Regions from separate parts of the Homo sapiens genome. Here region 2 is linked to region 1. Evidence: promoter capture Hi-C in human tissues and cell types (Jung and others, 2019). All regions are on one chromosome and are shown on one strand. The core of a region is centred on a gene start or on the middle of the fragment in contact, and the rest is flanking DNA. Distances in the headings are between cores, read along the strand shown. Region 1 holds the start of CAMP (cathelicidin antimicrobial peptide). Region 2 holds the start of FBXW12 (F-box and WD repeat domain containing 12).

Evidence for each region. The method cuts DNA at HindIII sites, captures the fragments that hold promoters and counts their contacts. A contact is called where the count stands out against the background at its distance.
Region 2: the fragment with the promoter of FBXW12 here is called in contact with the fragment with the promoter of CAMP in region 1 in 2 of the 25 tissues and cell types used here (IMR-90 fibroblasts and mesenchymal stem cells).

What each region holds. Positions count from the first base shown.
Region 1 is chr3:48,222,137-48,224,836 of GRCh38, forward strand. CAMP (cathelicidin antimicrobial peptide) reads left to right here and starts at 1,359. Exons shown (of 4, transcript NM_004345.5): 1 at 1,359-1,576; 2 at 2,218-2,325; 3 at 2,467-2,538. The coding sequence starts at 1,376. RefSeq lists enhancers at 704-823, 844-973, 984-1,033 and a silencer at 1,043-1,337. The HindIII fragment of the contact is 5,660 bases long and covers 204-2,700 here.
Region 2 is chr3:48,370,769-48,373,468 of GRCh38, forward strand. FBXW12 (F-box and WD repeat domain containing 12) reads left to right here and starts at 1,451. Exons shown (of 11, transcript NM_207102.2): 1 at 1,451-1,552; 2 at 1,916-2,089; 3 at 2,540-2,577. The coding sequence starts at 2,000. The HindIII fragment of the contact is 16,322 bases long and covers 1-2,700 here.

The DNA.
Region 1 (2,700 bases), core at 109-2,608:
CAAGGAGGCCCAGTGGGGACAACCGGGACGTTCATGGGAGTCTCGAACTCAGAGATACAGACTGGGTGGTGTCTGCCTATTATAACTGGTGTCCTGGGAGAGGGCGTCCCCAGGGAAACCCGAGGCCAGGGAAGAGAAGCAGCCCAGGAGGTGACCCCACACGCTCTCAATATTAAGAAGACAGCCCTTAGGGGAGACCAAGAAGGAGCCACCAGGGAGGCAGGAGGGACAGCAGGAGAGTGGCATCAGGGGAGACCGGGGCAGCAAGAAGGAAGGCTCACCAGTGCCTGTGCAGACAAAGACCAGGCTTGAGGGTGGCCATGGACCAAGGGTGGGTTGGCCAGCCTTCAGTGGCCTTCAGCATGAAGAAGAGTGAAAAGATGGGGTCAAGAAGCGTAGACAACCTTTCCTAAGACTTGGCTTGGGAGAAGCCATGGTGAAAGGCCATGTCTGGAGGGGCTTGGGAACATTTTGAGACTGAAAAAAACAGTGAAGAAGGATGCAGAAGGGGATAGATGGAGCAGAGCCTTCGTCTGGCTGACGGCTGGGTCCAGAGAGCATGTGGTATGGCCTTGAACTGAAAGGGCAACTTGTCCCTTGCAAGAGTGAGTCTCTAGGTTGGGGGTGGCTACTGTCTTCATTTACCAGTTCTTTTTTTTTTTTTTCATACTGAGTCTCACTCTGTTACCCAGGCTGGAGTGCAGTGGCATGATCTCAGCTAACTGCAACTTCTGCTTCCCGGGTTCAATGGGTTCAAGTGATTCTCATGCCTCAGCTTGTAGCTGGGACTACAGGTGTGAGCCATCATGCGTGGCTAATTTTCATATTTTTAGTAGAGATGGGGTTTCACCATGTTGGCCAAGCTTGTCTCGAACTCCTTATCTCAGGTGATCCGCCCACCTTGGCCTCCCAAAGTGCTGGGATTATAGGCGTGAGCCACCGTGCCCTGCCTCATTCATCAATTCTTAATCGATGCCTACAGGGTGCCAGGCAATGCCTAGAGCTGGAGATTTAGCAGTCCATCATACTGACTCCTGAGGAGTAGAAGGATGTAGAATAGGCACCTGGCTCTCTTCCTCTCTGGAGGGATTTAACGCTCTTGAGCACCCCTGGCTATGACAATCTCCGGTCAGGTCTGGGAGGTTGTCAGAGATGAAGAAACCACTTCCTCATCTTGCACACAAGGAAGGCCTCACTCACTGCCCAGCAAGTCCTGTGAAGCAATAGCCAGGGGCTAAAGCAAACCCCAGCCCACACCCTGGCAGGCAGCCAGGGATGGGTGGATCAGGAAGGCTCCTGGTTGGGCTTTTGCATCAGGCTCAGGCTGGGCATAAAGGAGGCTCCTGTGGGCTAGAGGGAGGCAGACATGGGGACCATGAAGACCCAAAGGGATGGCCACTCCCTGGGGCGGTGGTCACTGGTGCTCCTGCTGCTGGGCCTGGTGATGCCTCTGGCCATCATTGCCCAGGTCCTCAGCTACAAGGAAGCTGTGCTTCGTGCTATAGATGGCATCAACCAGCGGTCCTCGGATGCTAACCTCTACCGCCTCCTGGACCTGGACCCCAGGCCCACGATGGTGAGCTTTGGGGGACATTCTGCTCTGCTCTGGCTGGGCTTGGCCACGTGTTGTTCCTTCTGCTCCTGCTGCACTGCCTGCCAGGAGGGCATCTCCCCCTTTAAATGTGGTCCCGTGTTTTCCAGGGAACCTTCTAGAGCTCGTGTCTCCTCCCAGCTCGAGAGCTTCCTGCCTTATAATTCCTGCTGTGGCAGAGATACCCTCACCCCGACCCCACGCAGGTTTTGGGACTTCTGCGAGCTCCAGGCACTAGAATGGGGTCATTGGCTCTGGGCAGTGACCTCCTCTGCTTTAAGTCTCTTCTGTACCACGTTACCCCACATAGGGAAGAACTCTATCCAGACTTTAGGTTCCAGTGGGCATGTCTTGTCCCCCAGGAAGCCCCCTGACTTCCCTTGCCCCCACCCCAGAGTGGGAGGGGCTCCTTGTTAGAGCTCATCTGAGGTCTGCTCCTACTCACTGTTCACCTAGGAGGGTAGGAATGGCTCAGTCCTCCTCCCCTCAATGCCCCAGTGCCAAGCCCAGCACCCAGTGCCCGTCGCACATCAGGTACTGTGGAAAGCCTGCCCTCTTGGTGGGGAGGTCATGGACACAAATCAGAAAATACAAGAATGGGCCTCCCCATTTCCTCCTCTGACTAGGATGGGGACCCAGACACGCCAAAGCCTGTGAGCTTCACAGTGAAGGAGACAGTGTGCCCCAGGACGACACAGCAGTCACCAGAGGATTGTGACTTCAAGAAGGACGGGGTGAGGCTGGGGGCTGGGGGTGTTGGTGGGTGCCTCCCAAGGAGCTGAACAGGGGGCACCTGGGGAATATTTCCCACTGGGATGTGGCTGGGAGGTCATGGCAAATGGTTTCAAGTTTGACCTTGAGCTTCTCCTTTCCAGCTGGTGAAGCGGTGTATGGGGACAGTGACCCTCAACCAGGCCAGGGGCTCCTTTGACATCAGTTGTGATAAGGTGAGTGGGCTGTTCTGGGATGCAGGGGCTGATGGGGGCATAGAGTGTGGACCATCCAATGGGTCAATTAACTACTCCCCCAACCCAGGACAGAGAAAGCCCCTCCTACCCAGGGCTCTTCCCCAAACCTGAGTTCCATCTCCAGGGCCGGCTCTGGAATCC
Region 2 (2,700 bases), core at 201-2,700, 150 kb after region 1:
CACCCCGCCACCACCACCCCCCAACACACCTTCCTGTTCCTCTATTTTTTTTGTTGTTGTTGTTGAGATGGAGTCTCGCACTGTCGCCCAGGCTGGAGTGCAGTAGCGCAATCTCAGCTCACTGCAACCTCCACCTCCCAGCTTCAAGCAATTCTCCTGCCTCAGCCTCCCAAGTAGCTGGGATTACAGGCACCCGCCACCACGCCCAGCTAATTTGTTGTATTTTTAGTAGAGACAGGGTTTCACTATGTTGGCCAAGCTGGTCTCAAACTCCTGACCTGGTGATCCACCCGCCTCGGCCTCCCCAAGTGCTGGGATTACGGGCATGAGCCACTGTGCCTGGCCTCTGTTCCTCTATTTCAAATTCATTCATTCACTCATTCGGCAATTTGCTTCAGTTTCCTTATGTTTGCCTCTTTCTCATCTGTCCTCTTTTCCATTTTATTCCTACTCTGTCTCAGTCCACTTACAGTTATATTTCCTATCTGTGTATTTTATAATATTTGTGCTTTAATACTTTTAAAATATCCTTTATTTTACTGTTTCTTCTCTTCCCTTGTCATATTTTAAAGTGTTTTATTTCTCAGCCTTCTATATCTTTGCATTAATTCTGTTCCTCTACAATAGAGTCCGTTCCAAGCTTTCTGTCTTCCTGTGTCCTTCCACGGCTCTGGCTCTCTCTGCATTATTTCCTATTTATGGAATACAAATCTTTTACCCTTGTATTTTTCTCACTCCTCTCCACACACCCCTTGACTCGCCTTTCCCCACGCCCCTCTAGGTGCTTCTTGGTCTTTGCTTTTCCTTTTTATTTCCTCACCATGTCAATTTGTATTTTTCCTCTCTCTTACTACTGTATCATAAATGGGACTCCCGACAACCACTCCCGTGTGTCTGCCTGGAGGCAGCAGTTTTAAGAAGGGTTGGCCACTGAGCCTCACAGAGGGACCCCTGTCTTATGCTGCAGCAAAGTACCATAGACTGGGTGGCTTACAAACAAATTTATTTCTCACAATTTTGGAGGAGAGAAGTCCAAGAGTCACCTGTCAGCACGGTCAGGTTCTGGTGTGGGCCTTCTTCCAGGTTGCAGCTGACACCTTCTCATGTCCTCGCATGATATGAACAGGGCTAGAGAGCGTTCTGGGGTCTCTTTTATAAGGTCACTGGTCCCATCATAAGGACTCTGCCTGTGACCCACTTACCTCCCAAAGGCCCCCCACCTCCAATCACACCAAGGGTTAGAATTTCAACGTAGGAATTTTGAGAGGACACAAACACCCAGGCTATGACACGGTCTTTAGAAAATCCCAGAATGAGTTGTCAGGTTCTTGGGAGATCTGTAACTGTGGGAAAGCGTCACATCCCAGGGAAAGCCACCAGCTGGGAGAGCCATCCCAGACAAGGCCTGCTCCCTTTGGGCGGACCTCTGTGGAGAAGCCAGCTTGGCACGTTCTTTCTCCTCCACTGCAAAGTTAAATGCGAGAAGGTAGAAACCCAGAGGCCATGCTGGCGCTGAGAGATGAGCCCCACTCACCAGATTCAAGATCCCAAGGTAGGCACAGACACAGGGCAAGCAGACTCCAATTCCAGGAGTTTGGAACTTAAATAGAGTCATAGAGACACTCAGATCTGATCAAAGTGAGTGCACTCGGTGACATTTCCTAAAGGGTTCTGACAACTTCATCTGCAACTGGGGCTGCCCCAGGTTCTGCACCTCCAGCTCACAGCGCACAGGTGTTGCTGAGCTCCTCTAAACAATGAACAGCACTAACAAGTGGGTTTAGGTAGGGATGCCTGCCAGCTGTGTGGATCAGGCCCCAGGGGAGAGGCCGGGGTGGAGGTCAGCCCGGGAGTCTGCACACCTGCAGCTTGTTTCTACCGCACACAGATGGGCATGGGTGAAAATCTTTACAAGTGCTGCAGACTTTGGCAAAGCCTATAAATTCAGAGCAGCCCGGAGAGGAGAAAGGAAAGTGGATGTGGGTTCAGGCCGCATGAAATGGAGATCCGATTGCCTGACTTAGCTTTGAAGCGAATCTTCTCTTTCCTGGACCTGTTCGGCTTGCTGCAGGTTTCCCAGGTGAACAAGGTAAAGGCCTTCCACCTCCCACTGCCCCCCAAGCCCGCTGCTTCTCTCGACCAGTTTGAGCACCACTTTGCAGAATAGCAGAGGGTTACACTGAGGCTTTGGGGGTTAGCATTCTTCATACTGAGGGCCTCATATTCTGTTAAACGAAAAGGACAAGCTGATATCCAGGAGTTGTGCTGACTAAACAGTCCTTGAGGCTCCCATTTCAAGCCCTAGGAAATCAACACTTCTTCCTGTGAATTCATGGGAATACCCAGTGCCTGTATTAGCAGTGATAGGTCTCTGTTGTTACCATTTCCTTATCTCCCCACACTGAGAGTGCTTTGAGAGCTGGAATCCCATCTGATTAACCTGTGCGGGCCCAGCTCCCAGAACAAATAATAGCAGAGGATTACCCTTGCTCTCTGATGTAACTGATTGCCTGCTTGTCTCTTCCTTTCTCTCCCATAGCATTGGAATAGGATTGCAGACAGTGATTACCTGTGGAGGTAAGGGAAGGGAAAGGGCAAGGAGGGAAGGGGAGAGGAGATCATCTGACTGCGCACCCATGCTGTGTCCCAAGGCCTGTGTGGCTGTGTTGTGAGATATACACAGGAAAGTTAGTGTGAGTA